Linked DNA regions of Homo sapiens: regions 1, 2, 3, 4, 5 and 7 are each linked to region 6. Evidence: promoter capture Hi-C in 16 types of primary human blood cells and fetal thymus (Javierre and others, 2016). All regions are on one chromosome and are shown on one strand. Each heading gives the region's core, a stretch centred on a gene start or on the middle of the fragment in contact. The rest is flanking DNA. Distances are from core to core; before and after follow the strand shown. Region 1 overlaps ENAH (ENAH actin regulator). Region 2 overlaps LBR (lamin B receptor). Region 3 overlaps ENAH (ENAH actin regulator). Region 4 overlaps ENAH (ENAH actin regulator). Region 5 overlaps ENAH (ENAH actin regulator). Region 6 holds the start of PYCR2 (pyrroline-5-carboxylate reductase 2). Region 7 overlaps LINC02765 (long intergenic non-protein coding RNA 2765).

Region 1 (4,117 bases), core at 799-3,298, 410 kb after region 6:
ATTGAATTTAAATGTGAAGTATTTTTTAAAATGCTGAAGCTGGGACTTACTCCTCCTTCATGTTTTTAATACAGCCACTTTGACTGTAAACAATTAAATGTATGTGTTCACTGTTACTGAATTTACTGTCTCAACACTTAAGGTTAATGTGGATTATTTTGGGTCTGATATTTCAAGTAGTACTAACTGCCATCCTATATACTAGTTTGTTTTTTCAGGGACGCTTACCTCTCTTCCAAATTTTATAAGTATTTATTTTGCTTATTTACCAAATCCCCATGAAAAAAAAAAGTCTTAATTAGATGATCTGTTGCATAGTTCTATTACTAAAGCTCTAACCTAAAGTAAGTAGTTATATATACTTGGACCTTACATTTCAGTATCTTTCAAAAACTGATCTAGACTTTTACAACTATGATAAATTGGACTCATTAAGTAAATACATGAGTCAGTTTAATTTAGCATGGCATTCTGCGTACCTTCCCACATAAAATAATATCACTCAGCTCTATTGTTGATGGTCTTACTTAACATTTCTCTCTCTCAGGCATTGTCTTGGGACCACTTGCACCTCCACCTCCTCCACCACTCCCACCAGGGCCTGCACAGGCTTCAGTAGCCCTCCCTCCTCCCCCAGGGCCCCCTCCACCTCCTCCACTCCCATCCACCGGGCCTCCACCGCCCCCTCCTCCCCCTCCTCTCCCTAATCAAGTACCCCCTCCTCCTCCACCACCTCCTGCCCCACCCCTCCCTGCATCTGGATTCTTTTTGGCATCCATGTCAGAAGACAATCGCCCTTTAACTGGACTTGCAGCTGCAATTGCCGGAGCAAAACTTAGGAAAGTGTCACGGGTAAATACCTTTCTGAAAAATTTTTTTAATATGTCTTATTCTTCCTAAATATCTAAAATGTTGAATTTATTGTATTCTAATTTTATGAAATGTTATGAACTTCATTGATTTAAAAAATTGAAATAATTTACCCTGGCGCAATGGCTCATACCTGTATAATCCCTGCACTTTGGGAGGCTGGGGTGGGCGGATCACCTGAGGTCAGGAGTTCGAGACCAGGCTGGCCAACATGTTAAAACCCTATCTCACTAAAAATACAAAACTTAGCCAGATGTGTGACACATGCCTATAATCCCAGCTGCTCGGGAGGCTGAGGCAGAAGAATCGCTTGAACCCGGGAGGTGGAGGTTGCAGTGAGCCGAGATCATGCCACTGCGCTCTAGCCTGGGTGACAGAGTAAGACTTTGTCTCAAAAAATAAAATAAATAAAAATTAAAAATTGACATAATTTAAATTTTTATAGTGAAGTTGTAAGAATAGTATAAATAATTTCTATAAATTCATCACCTACATTCACCCATTAACATTTTACCAGTATTTGCTTTTTTATTCCTTCTTTGGATATGTTTCCTTCTTTACACATGCACTTTTTTTGTTTTTTCTCTTGAGACGGAGTTTCACTCTTGTTATCCAGACTGGAGTGCCATGGCGCGATCTCAGCTCACTGCAACCTCCACCTCCCAGGTTCAAGCGATTTTGCCTCAGCCTCCTGAGTAGCTGGGATTACAGGCACCCACCACCATGCTTAGCTAATTTTTGTATTTTTAGTAGAGATAGGGTTTCGCGATGTTGACCAGACTGGTCTTGAAATCCTGACCTCAGGTGATCCACCCGCCTCAGCCTCCCACAGTGCCGGGATTACAGGTGTGAGCCATCGCACCCGGCCTACACATGCACTTTTGTTTGAATGATTTGAGAGTAACTCAGAGACACAAGCTTCTATTTTCCTAAGTACCTCAGTGTGAATTTTATAAGAACAAGGACATTTACCTGCATAACCAGTAATATAATTATCAAAATCAGGAAAGTTAACATGATAGAATACTGTAATCTACAAATGTATTATTCAAATTTCATCTATAGTCCAATGACATCTTTAGTGACAGTTTTTTTCCTAGTGCAAGATCATTTATTGCATTTAGTTATAATGTCTCTTTGATATACTTTATGACAGTTCCTCAATCTTTCATAATACTGGCATTTTTGAAGACTGTAGGACAATTATTTTGCCTGTTATCCTTCACTTTGGCTTATCTGATTTTTCCTCAAGATTAGATTCTAGTTATGCAGGGGTTGTTTTAGCAGGAATATTATCAGAGCAAAGTCATGCCCTTTTCATGGCAGCACAGGAAGAGATACATGATACTGTTTCATTGCATTCTTGGTGATAGTAGTTTTGATAAACTCTTGTTGATATATAAAGTCATGCTAAGAATCTATTGGTTCTTAAAGCTTAAAAAATAATATTTAGGTTTTTTAAAATTAATGCTGATGTTTCCTTCTGTTTTAGATGTAATATATTAATAAAAATATGGTTGTCTAACATAGGAGTTGATTATGTCTGTATATTCTCATTAAGATGGAGGATACCTCTTTCCCAAGTGGAGGGAATGCTATTGGTGTGAACTCCGCCTCATCTAAAACAGATACAGGCCGTGGAAATGGACCCCTTCCTTTAGGGGGTAGTGGTTTAATGGAAGAAATGAGTGCCCTGCTGGCCAGGAGGTAAGGAATTTCATTATAATGGACATGCCCAGAATTGAGAGGATTTTAATTGTATTCCAAATACAACTAACTAGATGCACTTCTTTCCTCGTAGAGAAGTGGTTTTTATACTGAATCAGATAATATTTTTAAAAATCGGATTTGCCTTCTTTGTAGGAGAAGAATTGCTGAAAAGGGATCAACAATAGAAACAGAACAAAAAGAGGACAAAGGTGTAAGTTAATAAAGATAGTCTACCATACCTTAAAATATGGAATTCAGGCACAGCTCATTCAGGAAATAGTGTCAGCATTTATTTAATTTGGGCTTAATTAGTTTGAACTTATATTTGCTAATTTTTAACTATGCATGTGAAGTGGCTTGTTTTGACTGTTATTTATAAATTTTTAATGGCAGTCTTAGTAAAGTGAGTTGAATATGTGAAATTATGGGAAAAGCATTGAAGTTCAAACCTGTGGAGTTTAATTCTGTTCCTTAAATGAGTGAATGACATTTCACTACTTTTTTCATCTCTTAGAATCTCAGTTCCCTTGCATTAATTTAAAAGGAAGGAATTCGCCTAAATTCATATGTTTCCCTTAGGAGCTTGATGGTTATTGGCTGTGCCCCTTCAGAGTGTAACCTTCATGCCCTCCTCCCTGATTCAGCTGGGCAAACTCTGCTTTGTCTGTGCTGTATATTGGTGTGCAACAAATAATATGTTCCCCCTGCTCCATCTGGCCACCTTAGATGCCATTCCTCAAATCTGTCTCTCGTGTCTGGCTTTGTAGCATTGGCTAGTGAAAGTTCTCAAGGAGAACACATGAGGAAAGGAGCTGTGGGGAGGGTTGAAGGGAAGATGGTTGAAGACAGGAGAAGAAAGTCTAAGCTGAAATGAAAGGGAGAGAAGACCGATGAAAGAGAAAGTGGGGAGTGGCAGAAAGAATATTAGAAGTGTTCGTGTAAAACACTAAATGTATATAGCAACAGGGGACTGGTAGATGTGATATTAATATATATCTGTATATTTAGGAAGATTCAGAGCCTGTAACTTCTAAGGCCTCTTCAACAAGTACACCTGGTAAGTTCAAGATAAATATTTTAACCTTTATAAACTTTCTCTAAATATTAATACTCCCCAGTTAAAAATTCCCCCTTTCCCCATATTTGGACCAAGTGACTGGACACTAAAATGCCAGAGTTCTTTGTTCCCACCTGAAAGCATTCACTTTTTTCCTCCTGGAAGCTGCTGTTACTTTCTTGAGGTTACTTACTAAAACAAGGAAAATATTAATGTACTATTAGATGACAAGAGTATTTTTCATAATTGTTTTTCTAGAGGTAAAAATAAAGTGAGCATGTTAGTTAGTACTACAGTCTGCTTCAGAACATTCTCAAATTGAGAAGGATGTCCTAGCCATTCATTTGGGTGATATTGATAATTAAGGGAATAAAGTTTCTGATTTGTAAACTTAAAAAGTCTCCTTAAAATTTTGGGGAAGTGTTCTTGAATTCAGTGAAATTTCTGACATTGAGAATTCTTGAGCATCTGATAAATCAC
Region 2 (3,847 bases), core at 1,348-3,847, 500 kb after region 6:
ACAGCCATTTGCATCTGTTGGTCCCCTGGGTTTACTACGTTCTGTGTCTGGAGTTTGCTGTGGGTGGTGTTGAGTGTATCAAGGGTAGAGAAGAGCCCTGGGCTTCAGGGGAGGCTTTCAGAGGCAGTGACACCTAGCCAAGTGCTGAGAACAAACAGGAAAAACAGCAGTTGATGGGGCTGTTTCTGCAGAGAGGGCAGTATGCCAAAGTCAGGGGTCTGGGGGACACAGTCAGCCAAGTGCTGGAAGGGGGTGGTAGGGGAGGGCTAAGCAGGAGCCAGGCTGGGGGGGCTTTTATATTCCATGCCCAAGGGTTTGGGCTTCATCCTGAACACCAAGGATTTAATCAGGAGAGTGACATTAATTAGATTCGAGTCTAGCCCAGGGCTTTTCAACCTGTCTGGTGAGGGCCTGGGTTTTAAGATATCTGATCCGTAGTATACAAACATTTATATAAAATGCCATAAAAATGAGTTACTAGAAAAATAAAGACATACACAATAGACGACTCACAGTTTTACTATCAGATTCGATAGATATGAGATTACTTTGTCAAAATGCTATAAACATTTCCATACACCTATTTCTCAATTTTGGTACTTGCACAGATTAGTAACGAGCATTTCTAGGACCCATGGCTGAGGATGACACTTCGAGTGCTCTAGACCAGGAATAAAGCACAGAAAGTAAATATTTTAGACTTTATGGGAGCGGCTCCAGGCAGTATGGAAGGGAGCAGACATGGCAGTGTTCCAGTACAACTTTATGGACAGTGAAATTTGAATTTTGGATAATTTTCACACTTCAGGAAATACTGTTCTTTTGATTTTGTTTGTAATCATTTAAGAATGTAAAAGCCATTCTTAGTAGGAAGGCCACACAAAAATTGGGGTGAGGGACTTGGCCTGGGGCGTAATTTGTCTACATCCCTAGAAGCAACATAAGGAGATTCGGAGTAGGTGGGGACACAGTGAAACAGTTCCCAGTCATCCAAGCTCATGTTTTATTTTCAAGATCTGCTTATGTGTTTTGTTCAGAGTGAAACTGTGGTACTGTTTTTTTTTTTTTGGTCTGTGTGCTTATTTATTTTGTCCTGTCGTCTCAGTTTTAATCCATGTTAATTATTACCCTTCTTGCATATGGTGTTGGAAATAAGTACAGCTAATTGGTTTAGATACATTCGTTTCATGGAAATACCTTCAAAGAACAGGAATGGAAAGGCTGCATTTGTCTCATGAAAGATGGATCATTATGAAAGCATTTTCCATTGGCTTCATCTGATCCATTCTCAGATCCTAACATTTCCCGTGCTGATTTTAGAGTTAATGGTAGCAGTTCCTGCCTTTGTTATCCTCTTCTAGTGTGGGTCTGTCTGTATGTGTTATGATTTGTGGTAAAGCTCTTTGCCTTCTTCCCCCTTTCTAGCCTTTAACTTCCTTTAGGCAAAGGAAAGGTGGCTCAACTTCCAGTTCCCCTTCCAGACGCCGAGGGAGTCGATCAAGGTCACGCTCCCGATCCCCTGGTCGACCACCTAAAAGTGCCCGCCGATCTGCTTCTGCTTCCCACCAGGCCGACATTAAGGAAGCAAGGAGGGAAGTGGAAGTTAAATTGACTCCGCTGATTCTGGTACTTGTGTTTATCCTTATACAGCCTTTTGTCTTCCGCTTTATGTATATATTTACTCAAGTTACTTGCAGTTAATAATATTAAAATGTCACTGAAACATCAAATCTAAGTTGATGACTTTGGGAGTTTTCATATAAAACAAATGTTTGGAATAGAAAGTTTTAAATATCAATGGAAAAGAATGTCCTTCAGTTACCAGAAATGCTATTTAATATTTTAGTTTTTAAAAAAGCAGCGTTCAAATTTGAAATAGATGTAGCTTGTAGATTGAACTGCGTAAGGTTTTTACAGTGTATAAAAGTTCATATCATGTATGAAATGGTAAGACAAACCTGTATTACGGAAACATTCTTACTCTTAGCATCATTATACTTTATCACTTTACCTATTCAAAGATGATTTTAGTGGAATTACTTTCAAGATGTAAGCTTTGAAATATCAGGGTGCATGGAGCCTGTAGATCTTGTACAAATAGTATTTTAGATAGTAGACCAAAGACAAAGTATGTTAAGTAAAAAGAATAAAAGTAATCTTCTATTCACTTAATGTTAACCTCTTTTCTGGATAGAAGGCACACAGACTTTGAGACAGAGTCTTGCTCTGTCACCCAGGCTGGAGCGCAGTGGCGCAATCTCAGCTCACTGCAAGCTCCGCCTCCTGGGTTCACGCCATTCTCCTGCCTCAGCCTACCGAGTAGCTGGGACTACAGGCGCCCACCACCATGCCTGGCTGATTTTTTGTATTTTTAGTAGAGACAGGGTTTCACCGTGTTAGCCAGGATGGTCTCGATTTCCTGACCTCGTGATCCACCCGCCTCGGCCTCCCAAAGTGCTGGGATTACAGGCGTGAGCCACTGCGCCCGGCAACAGACTTTTAATAAACTTTAAAAACTGGATTATATACATACTGCTCAGTAGTCAGCTTTAAGACATTTTAAAATATTGGGATAACCTTTCAGAGTGTATTTTTCTACATCATTTTTGTTGTTGTATTCTATAGTATGGATATATGGTAAATTGTATACATGTAACTTAATCGTTAAAGTCAGCTCTGTCAATGATAGACATTTAGTGTTTTTCCTTCCATATTTTCACTATTACAAACAAGTATTTTTATGTAACATCTGATTATTTCCTTAGGATGGATTCTTACAAGTGGAACTGCTAGGTCAGCTGTATGGTGCAGATTTGAGGCTTTTAATACATATTGCCAGATTGCATCAAGAAAGTTTATAGTAGTATCAGTGTATGAATGCTCAGTTTCTCATTCTGAGTATTATAATTTTTTTTTTTTTTTTTGGAGAATGTGGCTGTCAGACATTTTCAACTTACTGTTCTAACTTATATTTTGAATTAGAACATTTTAACTATTAGTGGCTCTCTTTACCACCCCGGGACTCCAGGAACAGATGCTGTGTGATACTTTGTTATCCTTTCATTTTTAATATTTAGTGACTGCTATATTTTTACAGTGTAATCTTACAGTCCTGGTGTCACAAGAACCACAGAAGCTTTGCCTCTTACCTGGTAGTGCCTTGGGCCTACTGTGTGTTGCATAAGTACCCACTATTTCTTAGTTTTCCATTATGGGCTATTTTGGAGCAGTGAATGTCTTTTTGAATGTCTTTTGTTTTTTATCCAGTTAATGAACTAATTTACCAATTTTTACTTTCTCTGCCTTTCATAGTAAATACCCCTAAAATCTATCAATGAAATTATGACATTCAGTCTGATTACGTGAAAGATCAAAGTTGTTTTTTTTTTTTTTGAGGCGGAGTTTCATTCTTGTTGCCCAGGCTGGAGTGCAATGGCGCGGTCTTGGCTCAATGCAACCTCCGTCTCCGGGTTCAAGAGATTTTCCTGCCTCAGCTTCCGAAGTAGCTGGAATTACAGGTGCCCGCTACCGTGCGTGGCTAATTTTTTTGTATTTTTAGTAGAGACAGGGTTTCACCATGTTGGCCAGGCTGGTCTTGAACTCCTGACCTCAGGTGATCCACCCGCCTTGGCCTCCCAAAGTGCTGGGATTACAGGTGTGAGCCACCGTGCCTGGCCAGATGAAAGATTTTATGTAGAAATCTATCCAATATTTCAGAGACTGGGAAATTCTAGTCAGTTTTATTCCTTTTCATTTTTAACAAAATGAGGGTTAAATTCGTCAGAATTAAGGCTGTGAAAAATCTGTTTTATTGCTTGATTCCAAAACAGTAAGTTTTTACCATCAT
Region 3 (4,317 bases), core at 1,096-3,595, 390 kb after region 6:
TGTAATTGTGTACCTTAAATTTATATTTACCTGGAACTTTTAATGTTTATAGTATGTTTGTATTAATTTTTAAATGCACATAAATTTCAATGTGCTAGTTACTGCAACCTGACAATTTGAAGAAGAAACAAACAGAACAACCAGATTAAATGTAGATGTGAAAAAGTGCCAAAGGGAGTGATTCCATGCACGGACACACACACACACCCAATTTAAAGGATGTCTGGAAAGACAAAAAGCCCAAAAATCCATTATCATCACAAAGAACCATGTAGAAAAGAATTGTTAAGAGTTGTTCTAGGATCAAAATTCTCCCCATTTTAAAAGGAACTTCCTTGAAGCTTTTCATCTCAGCTGCAGGAATAAACTGTAGTAAATTTTTTTTATAATTATGATAACAGCCACAAAATATTACCCACATTTTAAAAATCTCCTTTCTGAACAGATTTGCTTAGTAAGCTTTTAAAAAGCTTTAAAAAAATATTCCAAAGCAGGTTCTGTAAATTGCTAAAAGATTTTCTTTTCTCAGCTTTTGTGAGTTACATTAAACTTGTGTTAGTTTTTTAAAAACCTGTTAAATAAAATAAATAGGATTGAGTTGAAATTTTGACGTCTTTTTTGAATCTATATATTTGAATTAAAACTGAGATTTTAATTGGCAAATTTAATCCATTAATATTACCTTTGATATATAACACCTGTCCTAGGTGTGTGACTGGTATAATTGCATTCTTCTTTGAGGTAGATGCCAAACAGGTCTAACCTACTCACATTCAGCTGTTTCATTATTTAAGCAGCCTGAGGCTTTCAACTTAAATACTCAAGTAAACATTATTTTAAAAAATAGTTAAAACATAATGGTCTTGTGAGTTGCCCATGCTAAATGCTCACATTTAGTACTTTGGATATATAAAGTACATTCCCTAAATAATTTCATGCTACCTCAGATTTACCCGCCCCTCCCCACACTTGTGTGTCCCCAGAAGAGAGGTCTTTTCTCTGTAAAGTATTAAACATTTGTGTATAGCCTAATAGGAGAGTCTGTTTTTACATCATTATTTTAATTTCCCAAGAAAAGAATTCTAGTCTGTTTACTAGACAGCAATCATGTATTTTCATTTATACAAACATTTACGTGTGTATTTAATTTCAAAAGTTTTGTTTTTTTTTGTTATTGATTACATGGGATTAATTTTTTTTTATAATATTTATTTGGTTCTCAAAATAGCAGACTCTTAGGAAATCTAATGAAATATATCACTGCAGTTGTCATCAATTTGTCTTTAGAGGACAAATAAAGTGATTAATCTAAAAACATTTGTAAAGAGGTGAGAAAAAAAGTTAGTAGGTAAGTTCAGATCAAATTAATTCTGTTTTTCCACACTTGGGATACACCAGTACTGCATTACATCCTAATAAATCTTTACTTCCGGTTGTGAAATCTACTCCACTAGTATAAAATACTTTGCACAATTAGCCCATAGATTACAAGAATTTAGTGCACAGAAGCATTTATTTCGTAACTTATTTTCCTAAGTTGTCTACAAATCTTTCAGAATATCTGTTAGGAGCATTTGCTGGTACACTAGAATTCACAAATATATGTAGTGTGTCATTACTCATATATTCTTCTCCAAGAGTGGAAGATAACTACTGTTTCTTTACTTTCTTGTTTACTGGATTAGACTTTAAGATTGTTCTATTTTAACCCTAGGTATTATATATTAGGTCCAGTATTTATCTCATTTTGTGACAGATTTGATTTTTATATCCAATGACATTAAGATGTCCCATAATTCAGTGGCATTCTATCTAAGATGCAAAAAACAGGTCTGCATTGTACATGATATGTGGGAATGGATGGTCATTAGTGTCTCATGACAGAACCATGTTGTATGAATGCAAGTTTTTTTTTCTTCTTACCCTAAATGAAAACTTAAAATTACCTGTTACATTAAAAATTCAGTTCAGTAGGTTAATTACTATATGGAAGTTTAGCAAATGTTTGTTTTCACCAGTGCTGGAAATGCTAGGCTATTAGACAAAAATGGCAGCTTAAATTGGGCAAATTTGATAAATGCTTTAGCATACTGGAGTCTAGTAATAAGGTTCTCATGCTCTCTCTCTCTCCTGTTTTTCATTTCCAGTGTTCTATTTAGGTGAGTTTTTGAATTCTGATTTTTCATTTAAGTTCTCCCTCTCCACTTCATGAATAATTACCCCAAAGAGAATGTCTCATTGTCTTAGAAACTGTCAAGCTTAGGTGCCTCTTCAGATGCTCATCGAACACTTGTTTTACTCAAGCTCTTCATATATAAATGTTTCTTTTTCCTTATTGTTGATGTTTTCCATTTGTTTCAAGTAAGCCTTCTGGAGATGATGACAGTATTATGTTGCAGTCTTTCATTTGCTCTGTGTTATGTAAAGCTTATATTTTATTTTGCTAGACAAAAAGAAGACACGTTTGTAAATATGTGATGGTTTTATGTTATTCTCATGATTTTATCTCCTCTGTCCAGCTAGATATGAAAATAATGTTCATCTGTAATGTTTTCTCCCTCTGTAGGGCCAACATTGCCTAGACAAAACTCACAACTACCTGCTCAAGTTCAAAATGGCCCATCCCAAGAAGAATTGGAAATTCAAAGAAGGTAAATTTTCAAGTTATTGTTTGTACTTTTTCTTTATGCTTCAGAAGACAAAACTGAACATCCTGTGTTTAAAGTAGATTATGTCTTATCAGCTGTTTAAGAGTCACAACTTTTATTCTTACATTAGTAAGTTTTGTGACTGTCATTAGTAAGTTACCAGATACTTGTTATGCTGGACATGAGATGTTATAAAATTTCATATGTGTTTTTTTTTGTAAAAATTATACTTAAGGTATGTTTAAAATATTGTAAATACGCTTAACAGAATTCAAAATCTTCTTATGGTTCAAGAAGTCTTACTTTTGTAATTATAAAGTGATCTGTGAGTACTATGATTTTCATGTGACAAATTTAACTAAAAAGTTGAAATATTGTTGGCTGTTTCTGTAACACATTGATCTTCAGATATTACTATAGGGTTTAGTAGTAGAATACAAAATCATTCTCTACTGGGCAGCATTCTTCCATGACTAGGAGTTCTCTGAAAGTGGTCAGAGTACGTAGGCTGACAGGCTAACCTTTGGAGTACCAGGATGGTGAGCAGGCAGGCCTCAGAACCGCACAAACGCTGAGCTACTAAAAGTTCCACTGGAAGCCCCAACTCATCTGAGGCAGCTTGTTCAGTTTCTTTAGAGAACAGTCTTCTGTGGTAAATGCCATTCCATCCATTGAGCTGGGGTTGGGGAGGACAGGGGAGGAGCTGGTACAGCTGTTCTTCAGACAGTGTATATACTTATTAATCAGCTTGATTATTGTGGCACTGCTCATTCCCGTTCTCTCTACCTGCTGACCTCAGGTTAGATCTTTCCCAGATTCCTCTTCCCATGTCTGCTTTGACCGTCTTCAGTATGTGTTCTGGGTTATGGATGCCTCCACTGCTCCATTTATTTATGTCACAGGCATTTTTTGTTCTAAGTACTTATATTGGGAAGGGTGGGGAGAGTGGAGGGAACAAAAAGCCTGAAACTCATCAGACAATAAACATGACATGGTATAGTAGAAGATGGTAAGTGCTATGGGGAAAAATGCAACAGAGTAAGGAGGATTATATGTTGTGAAGGGGCAGAGGGAAGTGCTGGTTGTAATTTTATTTTATTTTTCCGTCCATTACTTATCAGTCTCAGTACTTGTGAGTTTAAATAGAGTGGTCAGGGTAGATCTCATTGAGATGAAAAGAAGGAATTAACCAAGCAGATACCTATGTAAGTGCATTCTGTGCAGAGGCCTTAAGGAAGGATGATGCTTGTGTGTACATGGGAAAACAAGGAGGCCGTGGAGGCTGGAGCACAAGAGAGTATTAGGAGTAGAGGTCAGATCATGCAGGACCTTGCAGGCTACTGTGAAGAATTTAACCTTTACTCTGAGAGAAAGGAGAACCATTGTACAGTTTTGAACATAGGCATGATCTGACTTAAAATTTTAGCAGAATCAGTCAGTCTGCTCTGTTGAGCCTACACTATTGAGAGACGACTTGAGGCAGGTGCAGTGTTGTGACAGCAGCTCAACAAGAAAGCCAGTTAAGAGGCTGTTGCAGTGAACTAGGCAGGAGATAATGGTGGCTTCCCCCAGGTGATAGAAGTGGTTGTTGAGAAGTCAGATCCTTATATGTCTTGGTGGATTGTATGGTGGGGATGAGGGAAGGAGAGGGGTTGAGGTTTTTAGGCTA
Region 4 (4,393 bases), core at 679-3,178, 430 kb after region 6:
TTTCTATCAGATATTCATTGTCATGCAGTAGTAGTAAAAACATCAAAGATGCAGCAAGCTTATTAAGTATTATTTTCTAAAAGAAATAGGAGGCATTTTCATCTTTATTATTGTACTTTTGGTTATGCAAACACTTTGATAATATAAACAGTTATGTCCCCTATAAATCTGGTCAGCAACCTCTTTTGATTTTGTTGGGTAAGTTAAATAGTCTGTAGTAGGTAGAGTACTGGGTACAAGTGGTCCAAACTAAGATAAGAGACTAAAATAAAATGCTAAATCTTAAAAGAAACTGGGTTTATGCACTAAACGTTTTGTGCCTTGGTCTAATATTAACATGATGTATGTGTAAACTGACAAAAAAAAAAAAAAAAAAAAACCAGTGTTGAATCATGCTATATTTCCCATCATCCCAGATTGCTAAATGTTCTTTCCAAGAAGTCTGAATGAATTATTATATACATTTGCTATCATACATGACAGTTGTGTCATTATTAGAGATTTCAGTAATTAAAATGGGAAACAGAAGCCTAAGTTATTTACCTTATCAAAACCACGTTCCTTGGAACCACATTATTATGATGGTTTTTGTGCTCTTGTACGTTGGATGTCTTAAGCTGAGTACAGTTTAGGGGATCCTTTCTAATGACAGGAAGGCACTGCTTTCCTCAACACTGTGATCTGACCTGTGACAAGTCTGTACTATCCACTATGTAAATGGCTCACAAGTCAATTGCAAACAAACTGAATGTACAAATCTTAGTGCTGGTGCTGAAATCTCTTCAGAATAGTCATCATGATTTAAAAGTTTGTTTAAAAATTTGCAAGCATCAAGTGTCAATCAAAACTGAAGATGAAACACTAATGAATGTTGAATTCTCATGCTTTTAGGTGTACTTCCTTTTTAGAATTTTCAGTTTTCTGCTATTTTTACCGTAACTATTTCGTTTAAATTTGTTTCATTTAAGTTTCCTACACGCTAACTTCGTTTGTGCGATTGAAATAAAATTGCAGTATATATATGTTGCTTGTTTGTGACACTTAGATAATCTTCTGAAATAATTTGTTTTAAAGTAAGTTATATTGGATGTGAAAAACACCTTTTAAAGTCCAAGACTTTACTACTTAAAAGTTTACATGTCACGTCACTATTCTTTACAGATTTCATAGAAGTCGTGAATACTAAGTAATGTATACAAAAGAAATATGTGATGATGTGTCTACTTTTTGTTTGAAATAACTGTTGGGTGTTCCCTCTTCTTATTTTCTCTCTGCCCACCTTGACACAGTAACTTCCTCTTATAGTCAAGATGATGATTAAGTGTTTAATTTTTATTCCATTTTGTTCTGCAACACGTTCAGGTACTTAAAACTCATTCATGCAGTTAGAATTATCCTTTATGTAGTTTGCATGGTAAAGGACATTGTGTGGTAAAGGGCATTATTGAGTAATGAATTTTAAGTATAGCAAAATATGTATAGTGTTTATACATGATGCTGATTTCTTAAAACCTACATATAAGCAGTAGTACTTTTTCTCTATTATAAAGTATTAATTTTGAGTTCCATTTTATAATTCTGATGTCTTCATTAGAAATACAAAAATACAATCCTTGTATTTTTTCTTTGACCAGACCCAAATTTTCCCCTTCCCCCCTCCATTCTCCTCTCCACTTCTCGTGGACCGCGTGTTCCCAATATTCATTAACATTTGCAGCCATTACAGAGTTACAGTTGTAAAATTTTCAGCTGTTTTTTTTTTTTTTTTTTTGCTCTAGCCTGTCTCATGTTCTTGCTTCTCTTCATATGTAAGTCAGTATTTTTGTCTACAAATTAAAAGTCACTTGTCATTCAAAAATGAGTTAAGTAACATGATAATCTTTTAAATTTACCTAGCTACAACTTTTATGTCTCTTGTAAATTTATATATACTTTCAGTGCCATTGTGAAGAATTGGCCTTTTAATTCTAAGTAGTATTACCCTATGAAGCACAGTGTGCAAAGGTATGCTACAAGGTCTCTTTAATTCCTGTGTGGCCATTATAATTTTATAACACCATTACCCTTTAAATTCTACCGATTATAAGCAGCGTAAAAGTAACTATATAAAGCAAACATCGCAAAGGAACTCTGCAGGAGCTCTTAATTCCTTTATGTAGCTATCATAAAATTCACTTTCCTGAAGACATTTACTCTCATTCACTTCCAAACTCCAAACCTTTTTCTGGTAGCACCACTTTTGTTTTTAATAGAAAGATGAGTTCATATCTGTACATCTCTCCAAAGCTCTAAGGAATGAGAAAAGGATCCTAGTATATTGAAATTACTGATGTTTAATACCTCTGCCTTTTCACTAAAAGCCATTTAATATTTTTAAAGTCAAAACTTGACATACAGGTATTTATAAGGAATCTCCATGACTCTGAAGGAATGAAATTGATGTAGGTAGCTTTGGCTATGTAAAGACATAGTAGAGGACAATTACTTAAAGAAGAGTTTTCTTTTGAGGATTTGTAGATTTGACTAAGCAGCTGAAGTCAGTAACCCCTCAAGAAAGTCCGTTTATAGAAGCCAAGAACTGTTGGAGGTCTGTGATGCAGGTTTTTCTGTTCCCAACATCAAAAGCTGTGGATTATTTGGTGTGTTCCCCTTTATGTTATCTCTCGATAATTTTTGAGACATCAAGATTTTTTAAAATATCAATACTGGAAAGATGAAACCTTCAAATTAAAACCTAAAATTGATTAGAAAGAAAAGTAAAATATTAATGCAGTAAATTTAGGATGGTTACAGATACTCACCATCAACATAAATAAATGGAGTTCTAGGATAAATTATTTGTGGAATACTAATGGTCAAGTCACATAAGAGTAAAATCTTTTGGTGAGGAGACACATTTGACAACTGCTAAAGAATTAACTAAATTTGTCTTTCTAAATAGTTTTCTTTATAAAGTAACAGAAACATTGTAAAAGGATAAATGACTGTCATAATGACTTAGGATGTTGTAAGAATGTCTGCCACATTTATTGGTTATTTCTGTTGAAATCTGAAGGAATCGATACATCTGAAAATTGAGAAAGGGAAATAGGACTGTCCCCGTTACAGATACTCTGTGATGCACACAACCTTCTAAACGGAAGTGTTAGTATCATTTAAAGCACATAGTAGGCCTTGAGTATTTGCAGATTAACATGCAGAAAAAATCAAAGATGAAGCCCCAATTAAGTGTTTGAACCAAAGAATCACAGTCACTGAGCTGCACCCCCGTTCTGTGAAGCATGTTAAATACTCATAAAGAGCAGAGAGCAGGGCCCGTAGACGCTTCTGGTGTAGGACACAGGAATTCTAGGCAGAGGGAGAAAATTAGGGGCCCCAGTTGGTGGCTGAGAGTAAAAAGAATATACCATTTGAGTAGTGCTGTTCTTTTTCCTCAGTTTTTAAAGACATATAATTCCTAGTAGTTAGGACATCTAAATAGCTCGGTAAACTGGTCAGAGGCGGGAGGATTGCTTGAGGCCAGAAGTTTTGAGATCAGCCTGGGTAACAGGGAGACTCATTTCTACAAAAAAATTTAAAAATTTAGGCCAGGCATGGTGGTGCACACCTGTAATCCCAGCTACTCAGGAGACTGAAGCGGGAGGATCACCTGAGCCCAGGGAGGACGCGGCTGCAGTGAGCCGTTATCATGCCACTGTACTCCAGCCTGGGTGACAGAGCGAGAACCTGTCTCTAAAAAAAAAAAAAAAAAATTCTAAGAGAATATAGCTTTTCATAGAAATTATTAGAAAAGCTTACATATTTCATTAGAGAGCCCAGTTTGTTAGACTACATTTATTCCGTAAAAGTTCTATATACAAATGACAACCCATAGTTTATCATGTAAATCTGATTTAACTGTTCCCTTCAATTCCAAGAAAGATTTCTTCAGCAGTAGATGACAATTCTAAAAGCATAAAGAAATAACTAATAAAGGAGATGGATGATGTTATAGGTTGGTTTGGTTGGGTTTTAGTAAATAGTTATTCTTCTAAGAAGGCTTAGAAAATCGAGAATTGAATAGTTGGTACTTTGAATTCCATAGGAAAAAGCACTCAGAAGAAAAAGTCTACATTGGCTAGTGTTTAGATTGAGAGTTAATTTTCCCATCAAGTCCAAAAGTTTCCATCCAAGTCTATAGAAACTGAGAGAAAAGGTTCTTGGCTTACACTTAAAATACACATTGTTGCAACCATATAAGAGAGATACATTACAGAACGCTTTTAAAAATTTGGTCTCTTAAGCGCCTAACAGTCCATGCTTTAGTCACATCTGTGAAACCTCTTTTCTTTTTTTCTTTTTCTTTTATTTTTTTTTTTAAAGATTAAAGGCATTTTAAAAATAAATGTTTCAT
Region 5 (4,132 bases), core at 315-2,814, 350 kb after region 6:
GATCTCCTGACCTCGTGATCCGCCCGCCTCGGCCTCCCAAAGTGCTGGGATTACAGGCGTGAGCCACCGCGCCCGGCCTTTTTTTTATATATTTTGGAGACAGAGTCTCACTTTGTCACCCAGGCTGGAGTGCAGTGGCGTACTGTTGGCTCACGGCAACCTCTGCCTCCCAGGTTCAAGCGAATCTCATGTCTCAGCCTCCCAAGTAGCTGGGACTACAGGCACGAGGCACCATGCCTGGCTAATTTTTGGTATTTTTAGTAGAGATGGGATTTTGCCATGTTGGCCAGGCTGGTCTCGAACTCCTGACCTCAGGTGATCCACTCACCTCAGCCTCTCAATGTGCTGGGATTACAGGTGTGAGCCACCGCGCCTGGCCCACAATCTTATATAACTGAGCTGGTCTCGCCCACTTTTACTATATGCCAGGACCTGTGTTATAAATGTGAACAATATTTGTGGAATCGAGTTGAAACCTAACACAATTGTGTTTACTCTGAGCCTCTTTAATCTTTGAAATGTCATAATATTGTAGACATAGCCCAATAAATTGATATCAGAGAATAAGATGGAAATCCTGAATTTAAAATTCCAAAGTTTTTAGTGTTATTTCTTAGTATTTTATCTTCTGAATAAATGACATCTTAGTTCATAGAATGACTCAGTATCATAACAGACGTGATGCTAATTCTCTTTCTTTAGGATATATTCTCTTAAGAGGCTGATAGTATAGTAGAGGTTATTGTGCACATGTTGATAACTCACTACAGACTAGGCTCTGTGCTGCACATAGGGGATTCAAGAAGGGATGACATATTTTCCATTTTCAAAGATGATGAAGACATGTTTCTGAATAAGTGAGTTGGGCCATGACTTTCAGTGGTGGTACATTTTAATACTTTACAGCATATCACATACTAACTGGGAGTATCATTAAAATGCTAGGTGCATCCATAATTTTTTTCCTCCTTTTGATTGCCTCCTCTTTTGCATCCTGTCTATCTACAGATCCTTTCTTCTGTACTTGCAACATACATCCCCAGTGCTTTCCTCTCCCTCCTTTTTTTCTCGTCTGGTATTTGTGCTTCTGTTCTTGATTTTGCTGCCACTTTCTTGAATTTTTTCTCTACATAGTAGCTACAGTTATCTTTAAAATGTAGGCCGTGTTCTGCTTAAAGCCCTTCAGTGGCTTCCCAGTATACACTTGGAGTAAAACTCAAGTCTTTCCCATGGCTTAAATATTGCCTCCTCAGAGAGTCTTGTTTGTTGAGAGATTAATGAATACTCTGAGAACTCGGAGGAAGGAGCAATTAGTTCTGGCTTTGGGAACCACAGAGAGAATTAATAAGAGGAATAGTATTTGATCCAGGTCTTGATGAGTAGGATTTTGTTAGATTACAGTAAGTGCTGAAAAAGCATTTAAAGAGTGCCTACTGTGTGCTACATATTGTCATATTCATGCTTTCTTTGACAAGTAATGATTAATAAGTGATATCTTTGAAAAGAAATTGATATTTGTTAACAACTTGGTTTTACTGCAATCTCAATAAATAGTATATACAAGACTAGCCTAGCAATCCTTAGTCTGCTTAAATACCAGGAAGCGCTTCATTCACTGGTACCTGTGAGAATAGAACTTGGCAAGCGTTCTCATCACATATACCTGCTCAGTCAATTTGACAATATTCAGAAATGAACTACCTGACAAAACTACAAAATTGTAATTTGGTGTCTTGGTTTTTAGACCTTTTTTCCCTTCTTTTAAACCAGCTATCTCTAGCCTTTTAATGCCATATTTTATTTTAAAATACCAAAATTAACATCAGAAGATGAAGTATAATTAACTATATATACCAATTGCACTGGGTCATAAAAATGAAGTTTTTGTTTATAACTAATTTAGTGCCTGATCTTCACAAAAGTACAGCTTGGTAATTTACTAATTTAATCTTTTGCGTAGTCGCTTCACTGACTCAGAATCTTGAAGACTTTGACTGGGCATTCATTTTGAGGCTTGTCATGATGCAGATAGGATGGTAGTAAAATGATGCATTGCTCTAGTATTTGTTCACCAGTGTCCATGCAGCAATACTGTCTCTTGTGGCTGAGGCCAGCCATATTTTAAAGCAGGCCCTTGGCTAAGCATTTCACTGGACCAGGGAGAAACGGGGAGAAAACAAAATCTGCAGATAATAGAGGGAATTGTCTAGAAAGCTCAAGTTATTGCATTTAATGATTTGTCTTTGTTTTGAAATATTCCTATTTTTAGATTCCAGAAATATCATTTTAAATAAGTTATGTTTGTCCCCACCACCGCCCCATCGCATACCTGTCAAGTAGGGCAAAATATTGGCAGCCAGTTCTGTATTGATTTATCTAGTCTGCTTTTGATGTTCATGGCTCCATGAAGTCTAAAACTGCTTACCACCAATTTATTTTGTGCATCACACCTGTAATCGGAGTTAGTATGTGAGTAGCTTTTTTCCTTACTTCAACAGTCTCTTCTCGAGATTTCACCAGCTGGGTGTCCAATAATTCAGTTCACTCTGACACTGTGCAGAGTTAACGTAGACCCCATAGGTTAAGGGCTCAGTTCCATAAGGCTGCTCCTACTTCAGATACCAGCTGCAAATGGAGTGCCCAGGCTACCCACATCTGCTTAGCCAACTGCAAATACTGAGGTTCCTGAAACCACCCAACCCACATTTGATAATTTGCTAGAATGATTCCCAAAACTCAGGAAAGCGCTTCACTATTACCCATTTATTATAAAGGATATAATTTAGGAATAGCCAAATGGAAGAGAGGCATAGGGTAAGGTGTGAGGGTGCGGGGGTTGAGTCTTTTCCTGCCCTTTCCAAGTGCGACTCTCCCAGCACCTTCATATGTTGATCAACCTGGAAGCCCTCTGACCCTGTCATTCAGGGTTTTTATGGAAGTTTCATTACATAAGCATGATCGATGAAATCATTGGCCATTGTGATTGAACTCGATCTCTAGTCCGTCTCCCTTCCCCAGTTGTTGGCGGGGGGCAGTAATGAGGTGGGAAGTGTGGGCCTGAGTTCCAGCCTTCCAGTCATGCCATGATATTTCCGGCCACTTGGCCCCATCTGAAGCCATCTAGAAGCCCCTTCAGCCAAGAATCATCTCATTAGTATACCAAAGACACTTTGAGGAGCCCTGTACCCAGGACCCCAGGCCAAATACAGTTGACCCTTGAACAGTAGAGTTATAAAAGGTGAGTAGAGGGGTGGAGGAGGTTAGGGACTCTGGCCCCCAAGTGCAACTTTTCTTTTGTTTTTCTTTCTTTTTTTTCTTTTTTTTTGAGACAGAGTCTCACTCTGTCGCCCAGGCTGGAGTGTAGTGGCATGATCTCGGCTCACTGCAACCTCCATCTCCTGGGTTCAAGCGATTCTTGTGCTTCAGCCACTCGAGTAGCTGGGACCACAGGTGCACGTCACCATGCCTGGCTAATTTTTGTATCTTTAGTAGAGATGCAGTTTCACTATGTTGGCCAGGCTGGTCTCCTGACCTCAAATGATCTGCCTGCCTTGGCCTCCCAAAGTGCTGAGTTTACAGGCACGAGCCACTGTGCCTGGCCCAAGTGCAACTTTTGAATCCCCCATAACTTAACTAATAATAGTTTACTGTTGAGTAGAAGCTTTATAGATATCCATAAACAGTTGATCAACACGTTTTGTTATGTTATGTGTATTTTATACCATATTCTTTTTGAGACGGAGTTTCGCTCTTCTTGCCTAGGCTGGAGTGTCATGGCGCGATCTCAGCTCACCATAACCTCTGCCTCCCAGGTTCAAGCGATTCTCCTACCTCAGCCTCCCGAGTAGCTGGGATTACAGGTGCTCGCCACCAGACCTGGCTAATTTTTTTTTGCATTTTTAGTAGAGACAGGGTTTCTCCATGTTGGTCAGGCTGGTCTCCCAACTCCTCACCTTAGGTGATCTGCCCGCCTCGGCCTCCCAAAGTGCTAGGATTACAGGTGTGAGCCACCACGCCTGGCCCATATTCTTAATCTAGAGAAAAGAAAATGTTATTTAAAAAAACATTAAAAAATCACAAGAAGGAGAAAATATATTTACTATTCATGAAATGGACATGGATCATTATAGAG
Region 6 (4,212 bases), core at 361-2,860:
CTTTCTTCAATATGTCTGTATTACTTTTCGAATTTAAAAAATACAGAGGCCAGGTGCTGTGGCTCACGCCTGTAATCCCAGCACTTTGGGAGGCTGAGACAGGCAGATCACCTCAGGTCGGGAGTTCAAGATCAGCCTGACCAACATGGAGAAACCCTGTCTCTACTAAAAATACAAAAAATTAGCCGGGCGTGGTGGCGCATGCCTGTAATCCCAGCTACTCAGGAGGCTGAAGCAGGAGAATCGCTTGAACCCGGGAGGTGGAGGTTGCAGTGAGCCGAGATCGTGCCATTGCACTCCAGCCTGGGCAACAAGAGCGAAACTCTGTCTCAATAAATAAATAAATAAATAAATAAATAAAACATAGCATTATTTTGCTTAATAGTAAATATTATATTTGGTCCTCACTTTAAAGGGTGCACAAACTGAGGGCCTGGGGACTTGCTCAGGGAAGTTCACAGAAAGCAGCCCCTTGCCTGGGAGTGGGGGTGTGCATTACACGGAAAGGACTAGAAAAGCTAGCAGAGAGACCATGGGAACTAAGGGTCCTCAGCTCTTCTGAGTCCTCTAGGAACGCCACCTTCTTCCTCTCTACTTCTGTCATTTGTTCCCTGCGGCCCCTTATATTTACTACTGATAGAAAAGGAAACATCACATTGGTGGAGCTTTTAAAAGCAAGAGACAGGTCGGGCGCGGTGGCTCACGCTTATAATCCCAGCACTTTGGGAGGCCGAGGCGGGCGGATAACCTGATGTCAGGAGTTGAAGACCAGCCTGAACAACATGGTGAAACCCCGTCTCTACTAAAAATACAAAAATTATCCGGTCGTGGTAGCGGGCGCCTGTAATCCCAGCTACTGGGGAGGCTGAGGCAGGAGAATCGCTTGAACCCGGGAGGCGGAGATTGCAGTGAGCCGAGATCGTGCCACTGCACTCCATCCTGGGCAACAAGAGTGAAACTCCGTCTCAAAAAAAAAAAGGCAAGTGACAGCAAGGGGCTGGGGGGTGCGGGATCGCGGAAGAGTCGGAGACTCGAACTTGTCCTTCTTGTATCTAGTTTGGACAAATTCGCGAGAAACACTCAAGTTCAAGTGAATAAGCCGCGGCTGACCACCCTGGTGCCGCCTCGCCGCCACCTGGTCTGAACCTCGCCGCCACCTGGTCTGAACCTACGCCAGGAGGGCCTCGTTCATCCCCGCAAATCGGCAACCTGGAGAATTCCTGTGGGCCTTGAGGGGCATCTGATGGCCAGCGCCAGAAATAATATTAGCCAGGCCTGGGCCAGGCCTCAGCCCTGAGCCCGAGGTGGCTTAGGGACGGCGACCTCAGCCTTGGGGTGGGGGGGGGGGGTGGGGGCGGCCGGGCGTCCTGGGCCGGCGGGCGCCTGGAGCTCACGCCAAGCTGCCACAGGGGCTTCCGGGACTCCAGCCCGGAGTTCCGCCCTCCAGTCGCGAGCGGAGGAGGCGGGCACGCGGCCTGGCTCGGGCCGCGGATTGGCCTGCCCCGAGATCCTGGCCACTGATTGGTCGCCCGGACGGGGCGGGGCCACGTGGCCTAAGGCGCCATCAGCCGCCCGGGAGATATCCGCCGGGGGAGAATAGGGTTGCACCATCCCAGAAGCTGCTGTTAGCTCGCCGGTCCTCGGCACGCCGCCCGTTCGCCCCTGCGCTGTCCGCCCTTCCCCTAGCGTTACTTCCGGTCCCTCGCTGAGGGGGTTCGTGCGGCTCCCAGGAGGCGTGAACCGCGGACCATGAGCGTGGGCTTCATCGGGGCCGGCCAGCTGGCCTATGCTCTGGCGCGGGGCTTCACGGCCGCAGGCAAGCGCGTGGAGGCGGGAGGCGGCTTCGCGGGCGGTCCCGAGGCCCGAGGGGGCCTCCGTCCCACCAGCATGAGCGAATGAAAGGGGAGTTTGCGTCCGGTGGGGTAGATGAGACTCTGGTTGAGCAGCAAGTGCGTCTTCTGTCCTCGTAGAGGGTTGAGGGGGAGAGGGAGACTGGCACTGTTAGGACGGCTCTGGGTTTTAGAGCCAGGGAAAGCGTGGTAACGGGCTGGGCCGCGACCCCTAGTTGAAAAGCTCTGTCTTCTGCAGGCATCCTGTCGGCTCACAAGATAATAGCCAGCTCCCCAGAAATGAACCTGCCCACGGTGTCCGCGCTCAGGGTAGGTGGAGCCGGGCGGAGTGGGAAGCGGGTGGAGGCCCAGGAAAAGGATGACCTGAGATGAAGTGAGTCTGGCCGGCCCCTGCGCCCAAGTGCTGGTCTTTGGCCGGCGGTGACCTTTACTCCAGGAACGTGACAATCTTTCCACCTTCTCTTGGGCAGCTCAATGTGGTGGGAACACCCAGGGAGACATAACTGGGGGTCAGATCCAGACACTGGAGTGGTAGAGGATTAACTGAGGTGATTATGTGATGAAAGCACCTGGCACATAGTAGGTACCTAATAAATACTCATTTTTTAAATTTTTTTTCAGACAGGGTCTTACTCTGTCGCCCAAGCTGGAGTGCAGTGGCGCGATCTCAGCTCACTGTAACCTCCGCCTCCCACCTCAGCCTCCCACCTCAGCCTCCCGAGTAGCTGGAATTACAGGCATCCACCACGCGCAGCTAATTTTTGTATTTTTGGTAGAGAATACTGTTGGCCAGGCTGGTCTCGAACTCCTGGCCTCAAGTGATCTGCCCGCCTTGGCCTCCCAAAGTGCTGGGATTACAGGGGTGAGCCACTGCGCTCAGCCATTTTTCTTAATAGACGAGTTGTATGACCTTAAAGTACTCAGCCACTTTGAGGCTATTTCCTCATTTACAACAGTGGCCACTTTGCTGTTATTCTGAGTCGTGAATGAGCATATTGGGAAGAATCTGGTGAGTTAGTTGTTCTGTTCTCCAAAAACATATTCCAAGTCTTCACCCAAAACCTGTGCTCTGTGGGAGAGGATGGCTGATGAGGCAGGTGACAGGCAGTGTCTGTGCCTAGGGTGGGCTGATGTCCCTAGCACTGGAGGGTCCTGCTTCTCAGTTTGGAGTCATAGAGGGATGGATGGCTTCCAGCCTAGCCCTGGACCACATGGAGACTGTGCGGTCCCCACGAACAAGCGGCCAGGGTTAGGATAGGGCCTGACTCAGCTGTGCTTTTAACGACCAGGTATTAGCATTTCCCTTTGCCCTGCCACTTTCACCATAGGGCCTTCTTACCTGGCAGAGGAGTGCCTTAGATACCAGAAGATTGGCAGGGAAGAAGGGCAGCCACTTCCTGGTTACCATGGAGAAGCTTGTCATGCTCCAAGCCTGTGCTTACTTGTCCAGTAGCAACAATGGGAAACTGTATTATTTGGGGTAGGGGTAGAACCCTGAGGGCATAAAGCTAAGAATTCCAGGCTGCATCTGGCAGAATCGGTTTGGCAGGGGTTCAGCTGCTCCCTGGGAGGCCTTGGCATAGCCAGGCTGCTCCAGCACTGTGAGCTGGGAGTCTCCTCTTGCAGAAGATGGGTGTGAACCTGACACGCAGCAACAAGGAGACGGTGAAGCACAGCGACGTCCTGTTTCTGGCTGTGAAGCCACATATCATCCCCTTCATCCTGGATGAGATTGGGGCCGACGTGCAAGCCAGACACATCGTGGTCTCCTGTGCGGCTGGTGTCACCATCAGCTCTGTGGAGAAGGTGCCCATCTCAGCCCTGATGCCCCTTGTGTGAGGGGAGGGTTGACCCACGAATGGCAGCTAATGGGTGGGTGCTGGTGGGAGCCGTGCCCTGGCCACTCATTCGGCTCTCTCCCTCACCCTAGAAGCTGATGGCATTCCAGCCAGCCCCCAAAGTGATTCGCTGCATGACCAACACACCTGTGGTAGTGCAGGAAGGCGCTACAGTGTACGCCACGGGCACCCATGCCCTGGTGGAGGATGGGCAGCTCCTGGAGCAGCTCATGAGCAGCGTGGGCTTCTGCACTGAGGTGGAAGAGGACCTCATCGATGCCGTCACGGGGCTCAGTGGCAGCGGGCCTGCCTATGTGAGGCCCTCATTTGCTCGCTCAGCCTTCTAGGAACCCAGGCAGCAAGATGGGCTGGCAGGCAGGCTTGGACTGGGGGTGGCGCCCACCTCTTGGGCACAGCTGGCTGGTACAGGATGCTGACCCTTGGAGCTAGTTCTAGTCATCAGAAAGCAGACCTAAGGAAAGGCCCTTCAGTGCCTATGGCCTGGGGCTTAGTGAGTGTCTCCA
Region 7 (4,113 bases), core at 1,253-3,752, 480 kb after region 6:
GCAGAGCTTCGCACAGGCTGCCTGGAAACTGGCACAGCTGCATTCATCAGAAGAAACAGTTGCAGCCGGGTGTGGTGGCTCACGCCTGTAATCCCAACCCTTTGGGAGGCCGAGGCCGGCAGATCACTTGAAGTCAGGAGTTCAAGACCAGCCTGGCCAACATGGTGAAACCCCATCTTTACTAAAAATACAAAAAAATTAGCCGGGTGTGGTGGTGCTCGCCTGTAGTCCCAGCTACTCGGGAGGCTGAGGCAGGAGGACTGCTTGAACCTGGGAGGTGGAGGTTGCAATGAGCTGTGATCGCGCAATTGCACTCCAGCCTGGGCAACAGAGCGAGACTCTGTCTCAAAAAAAAAAAAAAAAAAAAAAAGAAGAAGAAACAGTGGCTGATGCTTATACATATTTTATTTATCTCACAGTGTGGTACAATGTCATAGCCCTAGATAACTGGAAAAGACGCCCCCTGGAATTCTGGAGAATCATGAGAAATGTGTCAGGAGCTTGTTCTGCCTTGGAGGGGGTCTGGAGGTGTGAGGCATAGGGGCTGCCCCTGGGTAACCTGGATCATCAGCTGCTGCGGGGCATGGCCTGCACCATCCTGCCTCCCCAACTTGGCTCTCTCTGTGTCCCCTGCCACGTCAACCTTCCCATCTTTTCTACTGTCTTCTAAAATCCTGCCCATACTCCAAGGCCCTTCTGGAATGCCACCTCCTCCTGTCACCCTTGCTTGCTAATCCCTGACACGTGACCTCTGTTGCTCCTTTGCCATCAAAGCTTGGCAGTGGTCGAGGGAGGCAGTGCTCTCCAATGAGCAGAGCACAGGCTTCCCTTCCAGGCGGCAGAGACCTGGCTCTGCCATCTTCCCACTGTGCGACTGTGGGCATGTCACCTGACCTATTTGAATCTGATTGTCCTCATCTGTAAAATGGGAATAACACTCTCTACCTCGACATTGCAGGGTCCAGAGAGAGGGAGGGGCCGGGTAGAGGAGACCAAATCAACCGCTTGCAGACTCCTGTGCTCTATCATGGAAGGTTCCTAGGGGCTCCTCCTCTGCCCCAGGTGCTCCTCAGGGGCCAGGAGGACAGAGCAGAGGCAGGTCTGGGCAAGAAGGGTGTGACCGCGCTGAGATATGCACCCGTATAGTTGGCAGTCGGCGCCTGCCTTTCCTTGTTCCCAACCCACTCTAGAGTTCAGGCTCCGGGAGAGCAAGGATGGGTTCTGACTCATCCTGTAAGCTCGACGGGTGAATGCCCAGCCTAGGAGGTGGCATAGAGGATACAGGTGGCCCTATGATTGAATTGAGGTAGTGAAGAGTGGGAATTTTTTTTTTTTCAATAACAAATTGTGGCTGGGTGCAATGGCTCATGCCTGTAATCCCAGCACTTTAGGAGGCCGAGGTGGGTGGATCACTTGAGATCAGGAGTTCGAGACCAGCCTGACCAACACGGCGAAACCCCATCTCTCCTAAAAATACAAAAATTAGCTAGTTGTGGTGGCACACGTCTGTAGTCCCAACTACTTGGGAGGCTGAGGCAGGAGAATCACTTGAACTTGGAAGGCGGAGGTTGCAGTGAGCTGAGATGGCGCCACTGACCTTCAGCCTGGGCGACAGAGCAAGACTCCGTCTCAGAAAAACAAAACAAAACAAAAAAAAGAAACCCAAAATTGTGTTAAGCTGAGATCCAAGCAAATAGAGAGGCTGAAAAGAACACAGTTATGTGGGGTTTTCCCCAAGCACAGCTCCTCAATCTCAGCTTTCCACCCTTTGCTGGGTCCTTCCCTCATTCAGCTTTATGGGAGTCTTTATAGAATTCCTACTCTGAAGGTGGCGCCTGGGTCACCAAGTAAGACACAGAATTTGCCCTTGGGGTGCAGAAATAGTGGGTACCCAAGGCAGGATGCCCCAGGCACCATGAGGACATCCAGACAGGGGGGTCAGCAGCCTGGGACTCAATGAGAGGGAGGCGCTGAAACCCAGAGGCCACCCCAAAGTTCAGACCCTGAGAGGGTTAACTTTTGCCCACCCCCACCAAGCCGGACTCTTTTCTCACCAGAGTGGACACAACCTGAAAACCAACTGGACTGAGCATCCTTCTCCTAAAATCTCAGCCAGAAGCCACGATGGAGGGTCCTGGGAAGGGAAGAGATGTGAAGATTTCTGTGATTCTAAAACCTTGGGTCTGCCTGCAAACTTCTCTCTGATCCCAGCCGAGAGCTGTGCACACGCTAGCTAGCCCTGTCACACAATAGCCCAGTGTTCCCGTCACAGTGCCTGGGAATGAGAGGCTTTTGAGGCCACAGAGCTATGACAAGTCCCCAGGTTGAATTGACTCTGGGAGGACAAATTTCTGAGAGACTCACGGGACCCTTATCCAGGACAACCTCACAAAGATCCCTGAAACTGAGCTTCCTCTGCTTCGTGCATAGTTTGAGGTATAAACTTTCCTTGTGTCTCGGTCAGATGAAGTGAAGGATGAATATTATCCCAGGCTAAAGTAACGAAAAGTCCAGAAGCCAGCGATGACAGAGATGTGTGTGGAAGAAGGCTGTGAGCATTTCCATCAAACCCTGTGAGTTTCCGAAGATCTTATCCCGAAGATATGTGTTTGGCCAATAAAACACTGAATAAAAATCCATCATGTTTCCAGAGCCAAGTCGACTTCTGCTGGGCTGGGGTGAGGCAGAGGCAGAATCAGACCTTATAAAGATGTTTTGAATAGCGGCTGTTCTGGGATCGCAGCCCAGTGACAGTGAATGCTTTCTGAGTTCTCGGATGAGAAGGAACAGAGTGACAGACTGACCATAACTGGCCACTGTGGTGTGTGCTCAGCTCCAGACCAGCACCTTATTTGGTGGGGGGAGAGGGTTCAAGGCCCCAGCGAGACAGTGAGTCCTGGTAGGGAAGGAACTCTGGCCAAGCTGCAGGCTGTGCAGTGGAGTGGGTTAGGAGGGGCCCTCGGGGAGGGAAGAACAAGGAGAGAGGGAAGTGAGAGGAAAGGAGGTTTCTCCTTCATCTAAATCCCAAGTATACACCCTTCTAAGGTCTGTTCTGGCCCTTCCCTAGGGAGTGCCTTCCCCTCTACCTGCCAGGTCCCATAGATAAGGATGTCCTCCCCTGCAGGCGCCTGGCCTCCATCACAGCATGCCCACTCTGTGCCCGCTGCAACCTCCTCTGACTCTCCCACTAGACCGGTGCCTGGTACACATGCTCCTGCGTGCATGAACATCGGTCAGCTATGGGTCCTCAAGATGACAAAACCCCCTGCTCCTGTGTCCTCACGGGGATCTGCACCAGCACTGGGCTGAACACTCTCCCTGCAATCTGTCAGTCACGTCTTCTGTAGCATTTTCTTTCTGGCAACAACGGTTGGGGTCATTAAAAGTGTCTTTGAAATGCAACCTTTTAATTACAGGAGGAATACTGCCCCTGGGAAGGGGCCTTTCTTCAAATGCTCCAGGAATTCCTTGGCCAATACACTCCAGGGGGAACACAGCCCAAAACGGGCCTGTGGCTGTGATCAGACCCAGGCATCCTGTCAAAACAGGAGCCTGGGAAGGGGAAGCTCAGGGAAGGAAAGGGGCTCCTCTTGGGAAGAGCAGGGGTGCTGGAGGAAGAAACCCACCCAGTCCCCTTTGGGCCTAACTTAAGATATGCTCACCGGCTCTCTAGCACGCAGTTTTCCCCAGGAGGTCCCTTGGCCATGACCCAAAGTTAGGAACTAGGGGTCTGCGGACGCCTCCTCCTCCCATATCAGAATATGCTCTCCACCGCCTGCACGGTGGCATTGGCTTTCTGGAGCTTTAGGGCCAGCAGGGGCAGCAACCATCTTCCCACGTGTCTCAGGCTGACTGCACACAGCTCCTCTCTTTGTTTTCAGAAGCCAAAAAGAGCCAGGCAGGCCAAAGCGGGAAAAGGGGGGGCTTCTAGGAAACACCTGGGGTGGCTGGGCAGAGGTGAGATGTGACCCTGGCTAGCCTGAGGGCTCCCTGTGGCTTTCGATGGCCAGCCTGTGATAAAGCCCTGAGAACTCCATCTCCTGTGATTTTCCTGGGGTACTGATTTTCCCCTCCCTGGGAGTCTAGGTGTTTGTTTATAATATCCAAGAATGC

What was found. The method cuts DNA at HindIII sites, captures the fragments that hold promoters and counts their contacts. A CHiCAGO score of 5 or more calls a contact.
Region 1: a fragment that was not itself captured here is called in contact with the fragment with the promoter of PYCR2 in region 6 in 13 of 17 cell types (total CD8 T cells, total CD4 T cells, total B cells and 10 more); the score reaches 12.3 in total CD8 T cells.
Region 2: a fragment that was not itself captured here is called in contact with the fragment with the promoter of PYCR2 in region 6 in 6 of 17 cell types (naive CD8 T cells, neutrophils, total CD4 T cells and 3 more); the score reaches 9.0 in naive CD8 T cells.
Region 3: a fragment that was not itself captured here is called in contact with the fragment with the promoter of PYCR2 in region 6 in 12 of 17 cell types (total CD8 T cells, total B cells, naive CD8 T cells and 9 more); the score reaches 15.1 in total CD8 T cells.
Region 4: a fragment that was not itself captured here is called in contact with the fragment with the promoter of PYCR2 in region 6 in 6 of 17 cell types (neutrophils, naive CD8 T cells, total CD8 T cells and 3 more); the score reaches 7.8 in neutrophils.
Region 5: a contact is called between a fragment that was not itself captured here and the fragment with the promoter of PYCR2 in region 6, in 1 of 17 cell types (naive CD8 T cells). The highest score is 7.0, in naive CD8 T cells.
Region 7: a contact is called between a fragment that was not itself captured here and the fragment with the promoter of PYCR2 in region 6, in 12 of 17 cell types (naive B cells, naive CD8 T cells, total B cells and 9 more). The highest score is 8.6, in naive B cells.

The regions. Positions count from the first base shown.
Region 1 is chr1:225,511,331-225,515,447 of GRCh38, reverse strand. ENAH (ENAH actin regulator) reads left to right here. Exons shown (of 14, transcript NM_018212.6): 7 at 548-852; 8 at 2,432-2,577; 9 at 2,734-2,791; 10 at 3,589-3,637. Among named protein-coding and RNA genes, the nearest start is that of LINC02765, 46 kb to the right of the region's middle. The HindIII fragment of the contact is 516 bases long and covers 1,791-2,306 here.
Region 2 is chr1:225,419,856-225,423,702 of GRCh38, reverse strand. LBR (lamin B receptor) reads left to right here. Exons shown (of 14, transcript NM_002296.4): 3 at 1,426-1,626. Among named protein-coding and RNA genes, the nearest start is that of LBR, 6.3 kb to the left of the region's middle. The HindIII fragment of the contact is 1,082 bases long and covers 2,057-3,138 here.
Region 3 is chr1:225,528,888-225,533,204 of GRCh38, reverse strand. ENAH (ENAH actin regulator) reads left to right here. Exons shown (of 14, transcript NM_018212.6): 4 at 2,567-2,651. Among named protein-coding and RNA genes, the nearest start is that of LINC02765, 63 kb to the right of the region's middle. The HindIII fragment of the contact is 169 bases long and covers 2,261-2,429 here.
Region 4 is chr1:225,491,443-225,495,835 of GRCh38, reverse strand. It overlaps ENAH (ENAH actin regulator), which reads left to right. Exons shown (of 14, transcript NM_018212.6): 14 at 1-4,393. Among named protein-coding and RNA genes, the nearest start is that of LINC02765, 26 kb to the right of the region's middle. The HindIII fragment of the contact is 3,735 bases long and covers 61-3,795 here.
Region 5 is chr1:225,570,566-225,574,697 of GRCh38, reverse strand. All of the region lies in intron 1 of ENAH (ENAH actin regulator), which reads left to right. Among named protein-coding and RNA genes, the nearest start is that of ENAH, 80 kb to the left of the region's middle. The HindIII fragment of the contact is 4,198 bases long and covers 1-3,663 here.
Region 6 is chr1:225,921,648-225,925,859 of GRCh38, reverse strand. It overlaps PYCR2 (pyrroline-5-carboxylate reductase 2), which reads left to right and starts at 1,610. Exons shown (of 7, transcript NM_013328.4): 1 at 1,610-1,816; 2 at 2,089-2,159; 3 at 3,477-3,656; 4 at 3,781-4,002. The coding sequence starts at 1,750. It overlaps MIR6741 (microRNA 6741), which reads left to right and starts at 3,718; the gene lies at 3,718-3,780. RefSeq lists silencers at 1,264-1,343, 1,484-1,573, 1,884-2,013 and an enhancer at 1,064-1,713. The HindIII fragment of the contact is 26,114 bases long and covers 1-3,267 here.
Region 7 is chr1:225,446,530-225,450,642 of GRCh38, reverse strand. It overlaps LINC02765 (long intergenic non-protein coding RNA 2765), which reads left to right. Exons shown (of 3, transcript NR_187303.1): 3 at 2,058-2,639. Among named protein-coding and RNA genes, the nearest start is that of LINC02765, 19 kb to the left of the region's middle. RefSeq lists enhancers at 2,811-3,370, 3,371-3,931, 3,932-4,113. The HindIII fragment of the contact is 3,451 bases long and covers 777-4,113 here.